Linked DNA regions of Homo sapiens: regions 2, 3, 4, 5, 6 and 7 are each linked to region 1. Evidence: promoter capture Hi-C in 16 types of primary human blood cells and fetal thymus (Javierre and others, 2016). All regions are on one chromosome and are shown on one strand. The core of a region is centred on a gene start or on the middle of the fragment in contact, and the rest is flanking DNA. Distances in the headings are between cores, read along the strand shown.

The links. Contacts are between HindIII fragments. The CHiCAGO score rates a contact against its expected background, and 5 or more counts as called.
Region 2: a fragment that was not itself captured here is called in contact with the fragment with the promoter of ALG2 in region 1 in 2 of 17 cell types (M2 macrophages and M1 macrophages); the score reaches 7.1 in M2 macrophages.
Region 3: a fragment that was not itself captured here is called in contact with the fragment with the promoter of ALG2 in region 1 in 2 of 17 cell types (M2 macrophages and M1 macrophages); the score reaches 6.8 in M2 macrophages.
Region 4: a fragment that was not itself captured here is called in contact with the fragment with the promoter of ALG2 in region 1 in 4 of 17 cell types (fetal thymus, monocytes, naive B cells and 1 more); the score reaches 7.5 in fetal thymus.
Region 5: a fragment that was not itself captured here is called in contact with the fragment with the promoter of ALG2 in region 1 in 1 of 17 cell types (M1 macrophages); the score reaches 5.2 in M1 macrophages.
Region 6: a fragment that was not itself captured here is called in contact with the fragment with the promoter of ALG2 in region 1 in 2 of 17 cell types (M2 macrophages and total B cells); the score reaches 6.8 in M2 macrophages.
Region 7: a contact is called between a fragment that was not itself captured here and the fragment with the promoter of ALG2 in region 1, in 2 of 17 cell types (fetal thymus and M2 macrophages). The highest score is 7.2, in fetal thymus.

The regions. Positions count from the first base shown.
Region 1 is chr9:99,220,522-99,223,531 of GRCh38, reverse strand. It overlaps ALG2 (ALG2 alpha-1,3/1,6-mannosyltransferase), which reads left to right and starts at 1,590. Exons shown (of 2, transcript NM_033087.4): 1 at 1,590-1,985. The coding sequence starts at 1,638. SEC61B (SEC61 translocon subunit beta) reads right to left here and starts at 1,250. Exons shown (of 4, transcript NM_006808.3): 1 at 1,166-1,250; 2 at 889-986. The coding sequence starts at 1,168. RefSeq lists an enhancer at 1,181-1,500. The HindIII fragment of the contact is 2,183 bases long and covers 361-2,543 here.
Region 2 is chr9:99,983,618-99,986,627 of GRCh38, reverse strand. ERP44 (endoplasmic reticulum protein 44) reads left to right here. Exons shown (of 12, transcript NM_015051.3): 11 at 1,559-1,661. Among named protein-coding and RNA genes, the nearest start is that of STX17, 78 kb to the right of the region's middle. The HindIII fragment of the contact is 801 bases long and covers 1,024-1,824 here.
Region 3 is chr9:99,930,947-99,933,956 of GRCh38, reverse strand. All of the region lies in intron 3 of STX17 (syntaxin 17), which reads right to left. Among named protein-coding and RNA genes, the nearest start is that of STX17, 26 kb to the right of the region's middle. The HindIII fragment of the contact is 1,691 bases long and covers 619-2,309 here.
Region 4 is chr9:99,912,401-99,915,410 of GRCh38, reverse strand. STX17 (syntaxin 17) reads right to left here. Exons shown (of 8, transcript NM_017919.3): 2 at 49-233. The coding sequence starts at 171. Among named protein-coding and RNA genes, the nearest start is that of STX17, 7.3 kb to the right of the region's middle. The HindIII fragment of the contact is 980 bases long and covers 1,114-2,093 here.
Region 5 is chr9:99,873,554-99,876,563 of GRCh38, reverse strand. No RefSeq gene overlaps it. Among named protein-coding and RNA genes, the nearest start is that of STX17-DT, 32 kb to the left of the region's middle. The HindIII fragment of the contact is 1,532 bases long and covers 855-2,386 here.
Region 6 is chr9:99,852,186-99,855,195 of GRCh38, reverse strand. All of the region lies in intron 7 of NR4A3 (nuclear receptor subfamily 4 group A member 3), which reads right to left. Among named protein-coding and RNA genes, the nearest start is that of NR4A3, 32 kb to the right of the region's middle. The HindIII fragment of the contact is 4,775 bases long and covers 1-3,010 here.
Region 7 is chr9:99,831,485-99,834,494 of GRCh38, reverse strand. It overlaps NR4A3 (nuclear receptor subfamily 4 group A member 3), which reads right to left. Exons shown (of 8, transcript NM_006981.4): 4 at 1,677-1,806; 5 at 1,041-1,213. Among named protein-coding and RNA genes, the nearest start is that of NR4A3, 11 kb to the right of the region's middle. RefSeq lists an enhancer at 320-1,519. The HindIII fragment of the contact is 3,351 bases long and covers 1-3,010 here.

The sequences.
Region 1 (3,010 bases), core at 341-2,840:
GTCTCAGCTACTCAGGAGGCTGAGGCAGGAGAATTGCTTGAACTCTGGAGGCAAAGGCTGTAGTGAGCCGAGATCGTGCCACTGCACTCCAGCCTGGGCGACAGAGTGAGATTCCATCCCAAAAAAAAAAAAAGGAAAAAGAAAGGTTAGGCTGAAATGACCACTAAGAGCTTTGGTATCCCCCCGGTTTTTTTTTTTTGTTTGTTTGTTTTTTTTAGTTCAGCAACAAGTAACAGAAACTACGCAGAAGAGTAACAGCAGAGCGAACGATGGACTGGAAAGCAAACAGCCTGAAGAAAAGGGTTAAGTAGCAAATGCAAAGCAGTAGAAAGGGAAAAGGAAAGAGCTTATGAGAAAGCTTTCAAGCAGAGTTTAAAGTCTGGCATATGACTAGAGAGAGAAAGAGCATAAGAAAAATCCAAGATGACGCTGACGTTTCTGGCTCTGAGTAAATGAGTGTACAACAGTGCCATATGGAAGTAAGGAGATATAATTGAGAGTGAGAGAGCTGAGCTGAAAAGAGACTAAGTTTTGTGTAGGACGAGTTATCTGTAGGACAGATTGCTTATGGGGCCGCCAGATGGAAATGTGAGTGCAAACCTCAGGTCCAGAGACACCAGTTTAATGACATCGGTTTTCTCAAAGTTATCTCTGACTCTATTCCAGTTTGTTAACTTTCCTTTTTTAAGAGTAGTGCCCTAAACTGAGCAACGAGAAAAAAAATGTCGCCTTCCTCCCAAAAGGCCTTTAACTACTCCCACGGCCACGTCACTAGAAGCTCATTTTGCCTTTGTCAATCTTCACATGCTAGGGTCTCCACCCCAGAATCAGCGAGGTTCTGGGTCCTATCTCCGAGTCTGGAAGCGAACGAACTGCAGGGTTCCTTACCTCTGCCGGACAGTGGATCCCGCCGCCCGGGCGGCCACTGCTTTGCTGGGAGAGCGCCCTGAGGATCCCACGTTAGTGCCACTGGGGGTCGGACCAGGCTGTAGAGGGAGACAAGCAGACAGACGGGTGAGCGCGGCAGGCCTGCCCCAGAACCCCGGCCTAGACACCCACACCCGAGGCTGGGGGAAGCAAGGGAGCTACAGAGGAAAAGCACGGCGCAAAGCAGGAGGAGTCAGGGCTTCTGGGAGAGGCGGGGATCATGGAAGGGCCGCCATACCATATTGGAGATGAGGGTGGCAAGGCGCTGACGCGGACGGATAGAAAGTTACGGAGCCCCCGAAAGACCGGCAGCTGGCGAGACTGACTCAGGCCCCGCCCCCGGACTTGCAGGCAAGGTCCTCTCTGACCCCAGGGACGCCTGGGTCGTCTCACGATATGCCTGTAGACAGTCTGCTACAGACAACTTAGTTACCTGCTGTATGGGAAGTAGAGACCTCCGGCCTCCTTCCTTTGGATCACAACGTCCTTCAGAAAGTCCAATCCCTACCGAAGGAAAAATATAACCGGGGTCAGACAAGATATTTTCTCAGGCAGTTACTAGACCCTCACAGATTTGCGCTGATGTGGCCTAACTGACGCACGTACGGCAGGGCGGGGTCGGCCCGCAGTGGCCAGCTGGGAGCTACGAGCGCGGAGCTTGCGCAGAAGACCCCCATCAGGGTGCGGGGTGCAGTTGCGGCTCCAGGGCCATGGCGGAGGAGCAGGGCCGGGAACGGGACTCGGTTCCCAAGCCGTCGGTGCTGTTCCTCCACCCAGACCTGGGCGTGGGCGGCGCTGAGCGGCTGGTGTTGGACGCGGCGCTGGCGCTGCAGGCGCGCGGGTGTAGCGTGAAGATCTGGACAGCGCACTACGACCCGGGCCACTGTTTCGCCGAGAGCCGCGAGCTACCGGTGCGCTGTGCCGGGGACTGGCTGCCGCGAGGCCTGGGCTGGGGCGGCCGCGGCGCCGCCGTCTGCGCCTACGTGCGCATGGTTTTCCTGGCGCTCTACGTGCTGTTCCTCGCCGACGAGGAGTTCGACGTGGTAGTGTGCGACCAGGTGAGGCGGCCGCGGGGCCGGCTGCGCGAGTGCGGACCTCGCCGTGGAGGGCGGCCGCGGGCATGACCCCTGAGAGAAGACCTTCCCTGTCTGCGGTTCGCAAAGATCGGAACTGACATGGAGAAGTCAGGGTTGTGAGCGAGCCTGTGGTTCTCTAACTTTAGTGTGGGCCCATTTAAAGTTGCAGATTGCTGGGGTTCCATCCTCCAGGAAGTTTTCATCCAGGTGCCCTGAGGTGGGGCCCAGACATCTGCATTTTAACTGGGTCATAGGGTGATTCCGAGGTAGATAGTCTTTGGGGCTCTGAGAAACGCTGGTATTAGAAGTCAGCTTCAGTCACCTTTTACTAATGAGTAACTCGCGTGTTGTCTTCCCGCTTACCTGTTATTTTTGTTGACTCTCCTTTCAGGCCATTTGCATCCCACTGTCCTTGTGTTCGGAGCCAGGCCACACCGTCCTCAGCAGTGTCATGTGTTAAAAACGCCAAGCTGAATATATCATGCCCCTATTAAAACTTGTACATGGCTCCCCATTGGTTTTTGGAGAAAAGTTCAAGCTTTTTACCTTGGTAAATAATGTCCACCTGGATCTGCCCTGTAGCTATTCTTGACTCTTTCCTTCGTGCATTTTTCCCCATCCTAAAAAAGATGACTTTAAAAAGTAACATTTACTCGATTAAAAATTTAGTAGTATAGAAGGATGTAACCTAAAAGCCCCGTCCTATTCTACTCCCTGAAGATAGCCACCGTTAAGTTTCTCTTGTATTTTTTCAGAAGTTGTGGTGACACCAGCCTGTGTCTTTTCATAGGTATATCTATATCTTCTTATTGGTACATAATTGGTATTATGACATACCTACTATTAGGCATCTTTTTCAGCAAAAATTTATTTATTTATTTATTTATTTTGAAACGGAGTCTTGCTCTGTCTCCCAGGCTGGAGTGCAGTGGCGCGATCTCGGCTCACTGCAACCTCCGCCTCCAGAGTAGCTGGGAGTACAGGTGCGCGCCCCACGCCCGGCTAAT
Region 2 (3,010 bases), core at 175-2,674, 760 kb before region 1:
AGCACTTCCGGGACCTCAAGAGAGGATAAAAAGTAAAAGAAACTGGTAATATTAACTACAAGCCAGCTATTGTTTGCTACCAAAAAAATAATGATTTTAAAAGTCAATCAATTCTACCCAAGGAATTAAAGTGTATATGGACCTGCATTTTAATTCTTGTAACAGAATGAAAAAGTGTTTCTATTTAAAATATATAATTAATTTTTTAAAGCACCAAGATCTCAGAAGGCAGACAATTCGTATGAGCAGAGATATAAATTCAGACAAGCAATGAAAAAAATGCTTAATTTGTGAAGAAATGTAAATTAAAATGCAGGTATCTTTTACTTATCAAATTAGCAAAACCAATTTTAATTTAAAAAAGACATGCTTGGCAAGACTTTAAAGAACAAACAGGTAGACAGATAGTAAAAACCAACTGATGTTTTATAGGTATAATTTGCTCACACTTGGTCAAAAGCTCTTATTTGTTAACCCAGTAATCCTACTTTATTGTATATAACTCAAGGAAATATTACAAAGAAGAAAGCCTGGTACATAAATTTGTTTAGCTCAGTATGGTGGTGTCTGCTACAGTGCATTGTTTCTGTGCTGCAGATTTGCTCATACATGATTGGTAATTAAGAGAATAGTGTCCATAGAAAGTGAAGTTGTGTCAGTTTATATATCATTATCCTCAGAATATCCTGAAGCCATCAGAATAAGCTTTTTCGTAAAGAGAATGCCGCAAGGGTGTATGAAGATCTCCAAAACAAAACAACTGAAAATCCTGGGGAAGTCCCCTTGTTAGTGTAAATAAAAGCTAGTTTAATGATCTTGAGAAGTGCTTTGCTTTTCACAATATTAAGCTATCCAATGAAGTTGCATGTGTGGTTTGAAGACATTATGAAGACATTTGCCTCTATGTTTAGGAAAAAAAACATGAAAATGCTATGCCCTGGTTCAGGTTAATTTGATGAAATTGGTTTCACTGTCTAGTGAAGGCCCTTAAGGACCCGAACCTCAAAAGTAGGCTCACAAGCTTTACGTTAAGGCTGCAGAGGATCACCTGGTTGACACTAGGTTTAAATGGTGGTGGACATTGGATGGTGCTAATATTTTTGTTATAGGTTCGCAGTAGTGCTTTGGTTACAAAGCTGCATAGTTTTCAGTGGTTAGCCCCTAACTATTTTTCCCTTGAGCCCTGTTATTTTTAGTGTGATGTTGCAGAACAAAGTTTTTTTTTAGTTACATATATGTAATTTAGGAAAATATATAAAGTGCCCATTAATAAAAAATGGTTAATTTGGGGTACAGCATCTTGATAGACTATAATGTGCCTTAATGATAAGCATGGAAATTTTTCTATGAAACAAGTACAGGAATTAGAATACAAAACTGAGTATCTGGATACTATGCTTACAACTGTGTAAAAATGTTTCACACATACCTGGCCTGCAATAGTTGTGGTAGGATGGTGGGACTATAGGTTAGCAAAAGTTTTTTTAATACTGTGAAGTTGGTAAAATAGAGATAAGTCCATTTTAACAGTTTACATTTTATTTGACTCTGGTTTTAGAATTCCTGGAAAACTCAAGCAATTCGTATTTGACTTACATTCTGGAAAACTGCACAGAGAATTCCATCATGGACCTGACCCAACTGATACAGCCCCAGGAGAGGTAGGACTCCTGTTTATTTTTCAATGAGAACTCTTTTTTTCCCTTTTTCAGTTAGCCTCAAAGAGGGTCTGAAGTTCTTGCATCAGCTTGAGCTTCAGCTTCTGAATATTTGTGTAGAGAAATTCTGAGTAGAAATTAACCTTTTAAATTAATTTTTAAAGCTTTAGGTCTTCAGAAAAGTTGAAAGAATATTATAACGTAGTTTCTTGATTGTATAAAAGTGTTCTGATGTGACCTCTGTGGAATATGGCTATAACAGTTAAATATAGTTGGCTTCAAATGGGAATAGGAAATAGGAATCTAAAGCAGATAAATCAGTGAAGAAATCAGTGGATTCCAATAACTATCCAAGCCTTCCTCTGTGGCTGGAAGATTGACCACACTATAAAGAAAGTAATGATTTGTTATTCTTGCTAAATCATTCTAAGAGCCTTCACAAATACACTATTCATAATGCTCAAAACCTTACAGTTTAATGCAGCTTTCCCATTTGTGATTTAGAATACTTGACAACTATTTTATCAAAATTTTATGTTCTTTTATGTTTTTTTTTACCTGAGAATTTTACTGTTTCCACCTTGTAACTTCTGTTACAAGTAATTTCTATGTTCCTACTGTACTAAACAGCCCTAAGTTTGCATTTTGATAGATTATGATTTCTATCATGCCTATTACCATGATACCGAGAGGGAAGATATGTACCAAAACCCTCTATTTCATATGCTCAGAACTTAAATCCATTATTTTGCCTATAAAACCTCTATTTATAAAAGGAAAATAAAAACTGAGTTTTTCTTTACCTTATTTAAGAGTGAGATTAGGTTCAGAGGCAAGAATTCCCTATAGGAATCCAACAACATGCTTTTTCCTTTAAAAATTAGGTCAGATTTTTGATAATTAACAACTATAGGAGGCAAACTTGTTGGCTATAACCCAAAGGTGATTATTTTCCTCAGAAAAGAAGGCCTGCATAGTATTTTATCAGATTAGGAAAAGATGTCATTTACCGTTATTGTATTATCCTGATTTGTTTCAATTTCCTCATTAGACAGTGAACTTACATTTGTTCATCTTTGTGTACTAACAGAGGGCACCAAATAAATGTTTGTTTTATAGTAATATAATTAATTTCAGCTTATTTCAGCTTAATCCAAACATATATCTCACTGAAAAAATTAAAAATGTATTGGGAAAGAGGAACATGATAAAGTCAAATGATAAGTTTGTAGACACATTGCTTCCTGTTAGAATTAATGTGCCATTACATATAGTATGTAATATATGCACTGTGTGCCTATGTCAACTACAGGGGATATTAAAATGAGGAGAACAATCAGGCCTGCTCTTGA
Region 3 (3,010 bases), core at 215-2,714, 710 kb before region 1:
AAGGTAGAAACTGTGATGTACTTTTCAGAATCCTCTATTATCAATTAGTATTGTTACTAAATATTAAGTATTTGGGAAGAAGAGCTGAGGAAGATGAAGCTTTGTAAAATATTCCTTTTATACTTTTGTATGGTAAGTGACAAAAATGGGGAAAATAATGCAATTACAATGTGTTTTAAATTAAACTAGCAAGTCAACAAATAAGCAGCTTTACTTCTGCCCAGATTCAAGAGAAGGGAAATTAGACTCCACCTATTGGTGGGGGAGTAGCAAGGTCATAATGTAGAAGGCCATGTGGGATGGGGGATATTTTTGTGGGTATCTTTAGAAAGTACAATGTACCACAACCTGTACGCAAAAAACTATAAAGATCCCCAAATATTAAAGAAGATAAATACAAATGCAAGAATATCCCATATTCACAGGCAGGAAAACTAGATATTGTAAAGATGTCAATTTTCTCTACCAATGCAACTCCCAACTTCCCAACAAGACTGTGTATGGACTTTGAAAAGCTGATTCTGAATTTCATATGGAGGACTAAAGAGCCAAGTATAGCCAAAACACTCCTGAAAAGGAAGGATACTGTGGAAGTATTGTACAATCAGATATCAAGCTTTATCTTAAAACTGTCATAATTAAGACAGTGTGTGGAATTTGGTGCAGAAATAGACTGACAAATGGAATAGAATATAAAGATCAGAGACATATGGAGTTACATGCATCTTTGGAATTACAATGTGCTTCAGAAGTAGCACCACAGAAATCAGGTAATAGTGTAACACACAAGTGATTTTCAAGATGGAATAAAATAAAATTTTATTGATGTCTACCTCATACCACCAATTCCAGATGGATTAAAGACTTGAATGTTAAAAGCAAAATATTTAAAACACTCAGTTAAATATATAAAGAAATATCTTCTTGAATCCTCCAAGAGAGGATTTCTTGAACAAGCCGCCAAAGTAGGAACCATAAAAGATTGATAATTTAAACTACATTTAAATTAAGAACTTATTTTTATCAAGATACCATAATGAATGTGACAATATAGCTCTTACTACGTAAATCTAATGATGATAAATCTAGAAAATCTGTTATAATTGTTGATGAGGTTATTTGTCCCAAAATAACTTTTACACTAACTAGCAAAGTAGAAATCTATACACAAAATTCAGAGCAGATATGAGTAAAACTCACCAAATACCTACATCTAACAATAGCTTCAATCTTACTACTCTAATGGCACCCATAAATCTTTTATGCCAGATGGAGGTCAATACGGTAAATATATACGCAAATTTTAAAAATCAGTAAACAAATACTTTGATCATAGCCAATGTCTCAACCAAATCATGTGATTTTTAAATGATAGATTAAACAGTGAAGATTGTAAGAAATCTAAGTCATAATAATCTCATTAAATCATTAACATGCTGAGTACCATTCAATAGACACCAAATCTTGCTGGGCACCAGGTGCTGCAGAATATACAAATAGTGGAGACATAGTCTCTGCTTGTTAGACCTATCATCTAATTAGCAAGCAGTAAATACAGCTATAGAGAGATAAGTCAAATTTCCATCTAAATCTCAAATCAATCTGTTTTCCTTCATCTCCATTATCTCTAAGCTACTAACATCTTTTTCTTGGACCTCTGTAACCCTTCCTAATGATCTCTTGAATTCATTTCATTCTATCACAATTTAATCACTATACTGCAGCTATAATAACCTTTCTGAATTCAAGAGGACCACAGATGTATTCTTTGGAGCAACTGACTCTAGATTCAGAAACACCAGGTACAGGGCTAAAAAGCCTGTACTGAATAAAGCCCAAAAGTCTTTATCTAATCTGCCTCTATAACTTTGTAAGATAAGCACCTACCTGCCGTAGGGGGAAAATGAGAATTCTTCTTCAGAAAACTAAATAAGAACAACCTCCAGATACTGATATTTGGAGGTATCCCTAAGGAAAACGCCAGCTTGCCCAAGCATCCTTAAGTGAAGTCCACCAGAAGACAAGCAATCTACTTTTTAATATTTCAGAAAAACAAACAAAAAAACCTATTACACCCATAGACAAAATGCTATCAAGAAAGGAAAAGAGAACAAGAAAAAGCTCTTGTAAACTAAATATCATAATAGCAGAAAAAAAGAATTCAAAGGAAAAAGGTAAAGAGAAACCTGAGGAAATCTTTTAGAAAACAGAGCGAAAATCAGACAAGCAACCCAAGAGTTCCAACATCCAATAGAACAGGGACTGCCAAATTTTTTCTACAAAGAACCAGACAGTAAATAGCTCAAGCTTTGTAGGCCATACAGTCTCTGTTGCAACTACTTAACTCTGCTGTTACCGTGTGAAAGCAGCCAAAGAAATGTGTAAGCAAATGGGATAGACAGAGGCCAGACATAGCCTCTGAATCAGTTTGCGGACCTTTAGAATTAAAGAAAAAAAAAAAAAGAGCAAAATGAGAAAACACAGAAGAATAAATGACCAAAGAAAAATCTAAGAAAATTACCCAGAACTAAAGCACATGAATTTTTAGAAAGAAACAGTCCAACACAATGACATCATCATCAAATTTCAGAATACCAGGGATGAACTAATCACAAAAGCTCCCAAAGAGGGAAAAAACAAAAAAACAAAACCAGGTCCTGTACAAAGACTGGAAAATCAGCTGGGCGCAGTAGCTCACGCCTGTAATCCCAGCACTTTGGAAGGCTGAGGTGGGCAGATCACAAGGTCAAGAGATTGAGACCATTCTGGCCAACATGGTGAAACCCCGTTTCTACTAAAAATACAAAAATTAGCTGGGCATGGTGGCACGCATCTGTAGTCCCAGCTACTCAGGAGGCTGAGGCAGGAGAATCGCTTGAAACCGGGAGGTGGAGATTGCAGTGAGCCAAGATTGCATCACTCACTGCACTCCAGCCTGGGCGAAAGAGCGAGACTCCATCTCAAAAAACGAAAAACAAAACAAAACAAAACAAAAGACTGGGAAATTATA
Region 4 (3,010 bases), core at 354-2,853, 690 kb before region 1:
AATCAAACTATGTAACTATTTCTTGTGGTAGTAAATGAAACAGCTCACCTTCTCAATATTTATCTGGTGCTTTCTTAACCTTTCCAGGTCTGTTGGGATTACTATCTTAATGAATTTCTGGATAGCTGGTTCAAGACGGCGTAATTTCACTTTTTCTTCATCTTCAGACATCCTAAAAAAATGTTGTATGACCTCCCTGGTAACAGCTGTCTTCTCCACTCATATAGAAAAACCTAAAAGAAAAATATTTCTTTAAGAATGTTTTCAAATCTGTTTCCACTATTTTTAAAAGCCAACGATTAGTTTTACAATTTATTCTAAATCAATAAATAGAATATTTCTAATGCTGACCTTGAGTGACTTGTTTTTTTCTTTATGAAACCACTGATTTTTAAATCTTTTTCTCTTTACAAAAATTATATTTTAGAATGTTCAGACAATATAAATAAATGAAGAATTAAATAAAGTCAGCAGTCATCTCCTCACCTTTTACAAAGAGTACAAAATGTACTCTTTACATTTTGGCATACGTCTCTCCAGGTCTTTTTCTATGTAAGTAGGTATGTATGTATATAAATACTTTTAAAAAAGCTAGGAGTATACTGTCCAAGTTTTCATTTTCTGATCTATCTTGGACATTGAATAACCTTTTTAAAAAAGGTATCAAATGGCTTAACACTGATGCTTGTATCAAACTTCATGTCTAATGTCATCATAATGTAACTTTGTAATTACACAACTTCAAATATATGATAACATAATATGCAACTTTTCTCATTGATGTGCTTTAAACTGCCTCTTCCATTTTCAATAAAGTGATTAGTATTGCCTACAACTGATTCAAAAAACCAGTGACAGAGCTGGAATAAGAACCCAGATTTTCTGAAATTACATTGAAATACTTTTTCCACTTCACCAGTAGTTTCCTACTAGTGTTCCAGAAAGTCCAAGGGTATGCATTTGGGGCCAGAGTACAAGCGTAGGGGCTAGAGGTGAGTAGGTTCCAGGACTCCACTCCCTACTTCAGTTGTAGAAACTTTACTTACAACTATTTTATGAATTGGAGCTTATCAGAGCTTATATAAATAATGGGCTTCACAGCTTAACCAAGCTTGAAAGCCACCATTGTACACCATGCTTTCATGCCATTTCATTAGCCACAACCTCACCCATGTTTAAAAAATTTTAAGTTGAGTATGTTAATACTGCTGAGTTATGCTGTCTTAGTCCAGGGTCTATAAAGATAGGAATTCACATACAGACTTTGTGGAGCCACTGAATCTTTATGAAAAATTGTGAATGAAGGGGCCGGGTACGGTGGCTCATGTCTGTAATACCAGCACTTTGGGAGGCCAAGGCGGGAGGACCACTTGAGCCCAGGAGTTCATGGCCAGCCTGGGCAACATGCCAAAATCCCATCTCTACAAAAAAAAAAAAAGAAAAAAAAAGTGAATATAGTTTATTTTGGAGAATAGAGTCCATTGTTTCAAGGGATTCTCAGAGATCTATCATCCCCAAAACATTAAATATTTATCCCCTTTCTTTCACAGTTGAAAATCTTGATGTGTTGGTTATATAGACTGCCTCCAATACCTACCCATTAGTAACTTGGTTTTTATGTTTGATACAAGGCTCAAAAGTCAAAAAGGAAAATCTCCAGGTACAAAAACAAAGAGGGTAAAACAGGTGCAACAGTGAATGGAAACTGGGGACATATGGAGAAATTCATTACCAAAAGAGACCATCCACAGACCCAACAAAACAGGAAAATTCATACCTAATGGACGAAAGATAATAAAATAATTTTAAAAAGAAACTAAAGTAAGTATATTTTTAAATATCCAAAAACATTCTATTCCAAAAAGGAACAGAATCTTTTAAAAAAATAGATATTATGAAACAGTAAGAGGCCAGCCTGAATATAAAACAAGTAAAACTTCTAGAAATGAAAATCTCAAAAGATGTGTTAAACAGTAAATTATATAGATAAGAAACAATTATTGATTGGAAGAAATCACTCAGAACACAGAGGAATAAAAAGATGAAAAGTATAAAAAAGAAGATAAAAGACATAAAGGATAAAATCAGAAGCTTAATAACAAGTAGAAGTCCCAGAAAGAAAGAACAAAGAAAACAGTAAGAAGGAATTATTCAAAGAGAATATACTGATAATTAAAATGTAAGACCTCAAACTGAAAAAGCACATCAGCCTCAAGTAGCATACATTAAAAAGAAACCAAATTTGCCTAAATACATGGAAGGGAAATTGCAAAACATTAAAGAACAAGAATCATTAAAAAAATGAGACATAAAAGACTGACAAAGCAATAATATATTGCTTTTAAAAGCAAGATATTAAAAGACAGAAATACCTTCAAAGTGCTGAGAGAGTTGGTATATTCCCAGGTAAATTATCATTTAAAATGAAAGCAAAATAATCATTTTCAGACATACAAGGACTAAGAGAGTTTATTACCAAGCCCCTCATTAAAAGTACTTAAAGGAATATTTCAACAATAAAGAAAATAAACCCAAAGGAGTGGAATAGCAAGGAGCAATGAATAGAATAAACTGTTAACGGATAGAATAAATGGGTGGATGAAAGAACAAAGAAAATAAAACATTTATTTTGAATAGTGTGATGAAGTATAATAAAAATGTTTCCATGTAAATAATTTTCTATAATTACGTAGATGCTTCACAATTTTACAAATTGGCTATTATTGGCTATTTAGGTTGTTTCTAATTTTCCACTATTATAAACTACAGTGTAATTACCCTGCTTACACATAAATCCATACTGCTGCCTATAATTATTTCTTTAAAACAATCAACAAAGACACAACCTGTATAAAGGGAGAAAATATTTGCCAACTAGTCATCCAACAAGGGACTAATATCTAGAATGTATGAGAAACTCAAACAACTCAACAGCAAAGAAACAAATAGTTCCATTAAAAAGTGGGCAAAGAATCTGAATAGACATTTCTCAAAAGAAGACATACAAATG
Region 5 (3,010 bases), core at 371-2,870, 650 kb before region 1:
AGCAATAATTCATATAGTAATGATTTGGTGGCTGATATGGTTTGACTCTGTGTCCCCATGCAAATCTCATCTTGAATTGTAATCCCCACATGTTGGGGGAGGAGCCTGGTAAGAGGTGATTGAATCATGGGGTGAACTTCCCCCTTGCTGTTCTCATAATAGTGAGTGAGTTCTTATGAGAGCTAGTTGTTTGAAGGTGTGTGGCACTTCCCCCTTCTCGCTCTCTCTCCTGCTCCGCCATGGTAAAGATGTGCTTGCTTCCCCTTTGCCTTCTGCCATGATTGTAAGTTTCCTGAGGCTTAACCATGCTTCCTGTGAAGCCTGCAGAACTGTAAGTCAATTAAACCTCTTTTCTTCATAAATTACCCAGTCTCAGATGATTCTTTATAGCAGTGTGAAAACAGACTAATACAGTGGTTTATGGAAATGTGCCTTCAGTCTTTACATTCTCTAGGGTAATGGTTCTCCAAATGTGGTCCCCTTCCCAACAAATTCATGGACTCCACTTCAGGCAACCAAATCAGAATCTCTGGTCACGAATATCAAGAAACTGTTTTAATAAGCTTTTCACATGTGATCCGAGCACTTTGGGAGACCGAGGTGGGCTGATCACAAGGTCAAGAGATCAAGACCATCCTGGCCAACATGGTGAAACCCCATCTCTACTAAAAATACAAAAATTAGCTGGGAGTGGGTGGTGCACGCCTGTAGTCCCAGCTACTTGGGAGGCTGAGGCAGGAGAATTGCTTGAACCCAGGAGGCAGAGGTTGCAGTGAGCTGAGATCGCAGCACTGCACCCCAGCCTGGCAATGGAGTGAGACTCCGTCTCAAAATAATTATAATAATAACAAGCTTTTCAGATGATTCCAATGAACATTAAAGATGAACATTGAAGTTTGAGGACTTAATAAATAAATGGCCTTTCTGTCCTGAGACTCATAGTAGTAGTTTAGCCTGGATGATTGGATGGAAGAGCCATTTACAGAGATTGGGGAAACAAATGGAAGAGCAAGTTTGGAAGGAGGTCATGAATTTGGGTCTGGTGTGTTTAATTTGAAGTACTTTTGGGATATCCAGGTGAAGGTATCTGGAGGCATCTGGAGCCTTGAGGTCTGGAGCTCAGAAGACAGGACTGAGTCGGAGATACAGATTTGGGAGTGGTAATTGGAGCCATGAATAAGACTGCTCAGGAGAATGGGAAGCATTAGTTTACCCTAGATAATAGCATTATTTTAAGAGAGTTGGGGAGGGGTCCTGAGAGAATGAAGAATCTGAGGACAGTCATTCTTCCTTGTGAGTGACTTGCATTGGAATGTTTGTCTCATCTTCTCCTCTGGATTATAAGCTCCTTAAAGGCAGGGACTGTGTAAACTTTAATAAGTCCCTCAAACAAAAGTACATTGCTGCACAGGCTGTGAATAATCAGTGAATTCCTTCCAGGATTCTGCTTTGCAGAAATCCAATGTGATCAGAGCCACCAGCAAGATGTTTTCCCAAAAATCACTTCTATCATTTCCCAATGGACAGTATGGCAGATTAAAAATAAGTGAATAAATAAAGGGTATCATGTGTAATCCACTGATATCTATGCTAATCACATTAATCAGAGTGAATTAATTATACCTGAAAACAGATGCAAAGTTAAATTCCTCAGAAAATCAATTCATTAAACTCATATTGGAATGCACAGTCAACAACCCCCATGTTTAGAAACTATCAGCATGATTTGTGGCAACTTCTGATTTACTAACGAAACTGCTTAAAACATTTTTAAAGGCAATTACAATTACTGTCTGGCATTTGATGGAAAGAAATCTTGTCAGCATTGTCCCTTGTGTGTCAACTGTCACAATTTTCTAAAAATTTTGAGGGGAAAAATAGGCAGGCTCTACTATTTGCTAGCCTCGATTAGGGTTAATTCAATGTGTGTCTGCAAATAATAGTGTTTAATGTAATCTCTCTAATTACAGATAAAACGCATTTTCAGTCATGCTCATCACTGACAGTATTTTGGGATAAGTTAAACTGACAGCTGCTTTCCGAAGGAAAGGAAAAAAACAAACCTTCCTTGGGGTTGTGTTGATTTTCTCTCTCTCTCTCCGCCCCACCCCCCTTTCTTTTACATTAAAGTTGAGAAAAAGATGAAACTTGATTCTTTGGCTCTGGATACCAATTTTGGAAATTATGACATCATCTATTTCTTGGGAATTTGACATGTTTTCCAGCTCCTACTCCCATCAACGAATATCTAACTTGAATTCACTCAGCAAGCATTTTCTAAGGGTTTCCAGTGAACCAAATATTGTGCTAGGCAGTAAGGGAATCAAGAAGGAATGATTCTACCAAACCTGCCCCCTGCAATTGGCCCCATGAGTCAAGTCAAGCTTCCTCCTATACCAGACTTGATAGTCATAGAGCCCTTTTATTCTCAGTCCCTCCAGAGTGAAACTATTCAAGTCACAATATTTTCTGAAGGACCACAGCTGACTGGATCAGGGACTACCCAAGGACAGCTACTCCTCAGATTGTCCAGGCATCTGTAATGTGGCCTCGCATGACAAATTGAGCCAGATCAGTCAGATTTTCTTTCTCAGGAATAGAAATTGGAAAATACTAGATGAGGTGGTTAGGGGTGAAGGTGAAATTAGAAGGCAGTAAGAGAAAAACTACACAATAGAAAGAATTAAGACCTTGAGAGGGCAGGCATCATTGGGTCTATGAGACTATGAGGAAGCCGAAACACAGGGCCTAGTTTAAGGTTGAATGAATCAAAGGATGAATAAATAAACAAATAATTGTGACCTAAGATGTCTTTGGCTTTTTTTGGTAGCCTCAAAACATGAGTGATTCACGCTGAGTCACTATCCTTGATACTCCTGACTATTTTTTCACCTATGCTGTAGATGAACCATGTTTCTTGCATACTGTGTGTCTCAGCTGGGATACAATTCAGCTTTGAGTAATGGAAAAACTCAAAATAACAGTGGTTTAACAAGGAGTTTATTTTTTT
Region 6 (3,010 bases), core at 218-2,717, 630 kb before region 1:
AAAGTCTCAGGATACAAAATCAATGTACAAAAATCACAAGCATTCTTATACACCAACAACAGACAAACAGAGAGCCAAATCATGGGTGAACTCCCATTCACAATTGCTTCAAAGAGAATAAAATACCTAGGAATCCAACTTACAAGGGATGTGAAGGACCTCTTCAAGGAGAACTACAAACCACTGCTCAAGGAACTAAAAGAGGACACAAACAAATGGAAGAACATTCCATGCTCATGGGTAGGAAGAATCAATATCGTGAAAATGGCCATACTGCCCAAGGTAATTTACAGATTCAATGCCATCCCCATCAAGCTACCAATGACTTTCTTCACAGAATTGGAAAAAACTACTTTAAAGTTCATGTGGAACCAAAAAAGAGCCCGCATTGCCAAGTCAATCCTAAGACAAAAGAACAAAGCTGGAGGCATCACACTACCTGACTTCAAACTATACTACAAGGCTACAGTAACCAAAACAGCATGGTACTGGTACCAAAACAGAGATATAGATCAATGGAACAGAACAGAGCCCTCAGAAATAATGCCGCATATCTACAACTATCTGATCTTTGACAAACCTGAGAAAAACAAGCAATGGGGAAAGGATTCCCTATTTAATAAATGGTGCTGGGAAAACTGGCTAGCCATATGTAGAAAGCTGAAACTGGATCTCTTCCTTACACCTTATACAAAAATCAATTCAAGATGGATTAAAGATTTAAACGTTAAACCTAAAACCATAAAAACCCTAGAAGAAAACCTAGGCATTACCATTCAGGACATAGGCGTGGGCAAGGACTTCATGTCCAAAACACCAAAAGCAATGGCAACAAAAGACAAAATTGACAAATGGGATCTAATTAAACTAAAGAGCTTCTGCACAGCAAAAGAAACTACCATCAGAGTGAACAGGCAACCTACAACATGGGAGAAAATTTTCGCAACCTACTCATCTGACAAAGGGCTAATATCCAGAATCTACAATGAACTCAAACAAATTTACAAGAAAAAAACAAACAACCCCATCAAAAAGTGGGCGAAGGACATGAACAGACACTTCTCAAAAGAAGACATTTATGCAGCCAAAAAACACATGAAGAAATGCTCATCATCACTGGCCATCAGAGAAATGCAAATCAAAACCACTATGAGATATCATCTCACACCAGTTAGAATGGCAATCATTAAAAAGTCAGGAAACAACAGGTGCTGGAGAGGATGCGGAGAAATAGGAACACTTTTACACTGTTGGTGGGACTGTAAACTAGTTCAACCATTGTGGAAGTCAGTGTGGCGATTCCTCAGGGATCTAGAACTAGAAATACCATTTGACCCAGCCATCCCATTACTGGGTATATACCCAAATGAGTATAAATCATGCTGCTATAAAGACACATGCACACGTATGTTTATTGCGGCACTATTCACAATAGCAAAGACTTGGAACCAACCCAAATGTCCAACAATGATAGACTGGATTAAGAAAATGTGGCACATATACACCATGGAATACTATGCAGCCATAAAAAATGATGAGTTCATATCCTTTGTAGGGACATGGATGAAATTGGAAACCATCATTCTCAGTAAACTATCGCAAGAACAAAAAACCAAACACCGCATATTCTCACTCATAGGTGGGAATTGAACAATGAGATCACATGGACACAGGAAGGGGAATATCACACTCTGGGGACTGTGGTGGGGTCGGGGGAGGGGGGAGGGATAGCATTGGGAGATATACCTAATGCTAGATGACACATTAGTGGGTGCAGCGCACCAGCATGGCACATGTATACATATGTAACTAACCTGCACAATGTGCACATGTACCCTAAAACTTAGAGTATAATAAAAAAAAAAAAAAAAAAAGAAATTCCCTAACACAATGTGTATATTCAGTTGCAGGGATGCATGAACACTTTTATGGATTCTTAGCAAGACAGCTGGCTCTTCATGGAAGTGTGTAAAACAAATAATAACAGTGAAGGTTTGTCTAATTTTTTTTCTGCATAGTACATATTAGTTCATTCAATTTTTATAAGAAACCTGAAAGTAGACATCTTTAACCCTGTGAGAAGGAAGGAAATTGAGATTCAGAGAGGGTAAGGAACTTGTCCAAGATTGCAAAGACAGCACATTTCAGGGTGAAGACCTGAACTCAGATCTCCGGTCTCTAAATCCTGTGGCCTCTCCCCTCTCCCACCATTTTTGTTTTTAACTATTTTGCCCCGCTAAGTTTGATATTTAGTTTTCCTTGCAATGTAGCTGATGGCTTTATCTGATGCAAAAGCAGGGGTAACCAGGTAACCATTTACAGTGAGCAGTGGAGCTCTGGAAAGACAGATGGTGGAGGGTGTGCCGTGGTCAGCCACCTGTCTAGTCCTGCTGTGTCACTGTTTCACTACTTTCTGCCATGGTTCTGCCCTCCTTCCTCCTTCTCAGTCTTAGAGGTCGTGTTTCAATAAGACCAGGAAAAAGACTAGAGTCAGACGAGAAAGGAGTCATTTTCTCACCTGAGAGATGACCTGAGTAGGGAAAAGAAAGCCATGGGGAACAACAAAATGGCATTTGAGCACTTGAGATTCCCTCTGCCATCTGGTTCAAAACTATCTTTCCAATCTTATTTCCCCTATTTCTGTACAGGAAAAGCGTTTTGCTCTGAGGTTAGGTCATCACATCAAGCCAGAAGGTAAATATCACATAGAATTAGTTTTATCCCTGAAAATCATTTAACTTTCCCAAAAGCACAAGACATCATCTCACCACTCATCACCAGAGGCAGAGAAACCATGACCTACAGTGGATTCATGCTCACTCCAGGACATACAGTCATCAAATGCAATAGCCTGCACTCTTAATTTTTCTCCTCTTTCTACTTGTATCATATGTGTGATTTTAATATATGCACAATGCAACTCCACTGTAATTGTTTTAACCCTAAACTGTACTGAGGCATTCAACTGCCATGCCCTTGCTGTTCTCTTTCCTTCATCTGGAATGTTCTT
Region 7 (3,010 bases), core at 290-2,789, 610 kb before region 1:
TTTTGTTTTCCTTCAAGTAGGAGGGATAATGATTCCTACAATTCATGGTGGTTTAAAGGATTAAATGAGATAATGTACCACAATGTCTAGCATATAGAAACTGCTCAATAATTGTGATTTTTTTTCCTTCTCTTCCCTCTTCATTGAGACCCTGTTTTGCTAGAAGTTTAGTTTTCTAAGTCCTTTAAAGAAATTGCCTTACAGAGCTGTTTATTCATTTGCTCAGGAAATCCTTTCTCATGGTTCTTCTCTGTGTTATCCAAATTTTGAGGAATTTGCAGGGTTCAGACTGATGGGATTTTACTATATCCCATATGAAATAAAAATGTTGATATGTTTTGGTTGACTTAACTATAACAACACCAATCGTCATTTATGGTCTTAAAAACATTTTCACAACCATCATTCTTGTGTGACTGGTGTTCAGAACACCCCTCTGAGGTTAAATATTGTAGCCATTTCCACTGTAGGCAGGAGAGAGCCAAAAGCAGGAACCAGGTGACACAGGCAGGAAGTAGCAGAGGTGGCGTTCCATCCCAGTTCTCCTGACAACTGATGTCACAGCCAGAGCTCGCTTCTCTCCACCAATGGTCTAATCCCTCTGAATAAGCAGCAGGTCAATCAATGCTGATGCAATTGGATAAACTGCTTAGTAATAACTTGAGGCTCACCCAGATGGTTTGAACACAATATGAAAAAAAACAGTAGTCACTTTGTCTAGATCACGAGATAAATCTACAAATTGTAGTTTGTCTGTGCAGATTTTCATTGGCACAACCACCAGGAATCCTGCAACAATGTGTATGACAGGTGCAGCACTGTCAGGGTCACTTGTTAAGGCATTTAGAGATTCAATAAGGCAAAAATTATTTGCTGCAATGGATGCACTGAATTGCTAAATGAAGCGAGAAATATAGAAAAAGTATGAAAACTGTCTAACATGGTGCCAGACACAAAATCATTCAATCAACTCTTATTACTAGTAGCCATAAATAGAGACCCTGATCATTCATTTGAAAGCAGGAAATCATAAAACTTACTCTGGAATAATCAAGATCTCTGGGTGTTGAGTCTGTTAAAGCTCGGACAAGGGCATTCATCATGCAGATTGGAGGAGAAGGTGGAGAGGGCTGAGAAGGTTCCTGTTGTAATGGGCTCTTTGGTTTGGAAGGCAGACGACCTCTCCTCCCTTTCAGACTATCTGTACGGACAACTGATGCCAAAAGAGACAAAGAAAACAATCTTCAAAGATTATGGAATGAACGACCATAAATCGCAAAAAGGAATAAAAACACATTACAGTTGAGCAATCATTAATGAGACCAACCATTTAAAAGTGGTAATAAGTTTGGAATAATATTCACACAATGATTTCATGAGAGTTGAAACAAGCAGCATAAAAGCCACCGATATTTACATTTGGTAATGAATTAGCCCTAAAAGTCTCCTTCTTAAATAGAACAAAGATGTATGTATACAAGTCCTCTGTTAATTTTGAGAAATTAGAATAAATAGTCCTCAGTTATTTTAAAATGTAGATATATATGATAAAAATAAAATGTTGAAAGGAAAAAGGAACTAGAAAAATTCACCATCCCAATGTAAATATTAGCTTTTTTTCACTGATTTCTGATAATATGTATAAGCAAACTGGGTAAAAAGCATTATATCCATACCTTCTTTTACCATTCCAACACTGAGACACTTCTGAAATCGACAGTACTGACATCGGTTTCGACGTCTCTTGTCTACTGGGCAGTTTTTATTTGCCAGGCAAACATATTTTGCATTTTTCTGCACTGTTCTCTGAGAAAATATAATACAAGATAGTCAACTGATAGTTTCTGGAAAGAGGTAGGACCTGACAAGATGTATTTTAATTACAATGTGAAAAGCGACAGTGCAATTCGTATAATTCGATAAATTTAATTTCCTAAAACGCTAGCCTGCAGGAAAAACAATTTTATTAGTGTTAGCTGCTGACAATGAAAATCATCTCGGATTGTTCTAAAGCAAGTCTCAGGAGACACCCAACTCTGAATGATAAAATCATATCTGAAATTACCAGGTCAACATATCATACCTTGGAGAATTAGATTATCTCCACTTTTAATATCCCTTTGGGAACAATTTTCTACTTGTTCCACTCCCCTGATTATTGCTGACCTTATTAAAATAAAATCAAAATTATCTGGGATGTACTTTGTTTGCTATCACTATTGTAAGTCAAATATCACAGTAACTGGCTTTGTTACCCAACAGAGATGAAATCATAAAAACCAAAATCAGGATTTTTCTAATTAAAACATATAGGAAATAATGTTTTAATGCAAAAAAACTAACTTAATCAGCCTGTATAGCTTATTTTATCTTTAAAGACCATATATGATAAACAGTCCATTCCTGATTTTTCAAAGCAAAATCTTAAAAGTAGTTATTACAAATCATTATTATATCCAAGGAAGAAAACAAAAAACCCCAAGGTACAAACGAAAAATGAGACAAAGAAAGATATATGACAGCCATATATTTTCAGTGAAAATTCCTATTAATAGGTCATTTCATAAATGTCTATTGACATAGACACAGTAACCATATTGTAAAAAAAATCATAAAACTTAAGGTTGGATAGAAAAATGATGTTGTATTTTTCAGAATCCATATAATTTGGAAATGACACATGGAGAAATAAACATATTTCGTCCTCCAAATTTAAACAAATGCTTGCTTTTTAAATTGAAAACATTTGTGCAAATGAACGTATTTTTACCACTTAGGGTGAAACTGTTCAGAAATTACCTGGATCTATACAACTCCAAATAGAGCAGAAAGTTGAAATTTATTTGGGAAGCCTGGGCTGCATTAATAAAAAAAGAAAATAAATCCAGGTAACTTGGGCTTTATGATCTATTTTGTGTTCAAACATCTAGATTTGCTTTTTAACATTTACTTCCAGTCATTCTCAACCCCCATGTTTCAGTTTTACCCTGTTACCTTTTAATTTCATTTT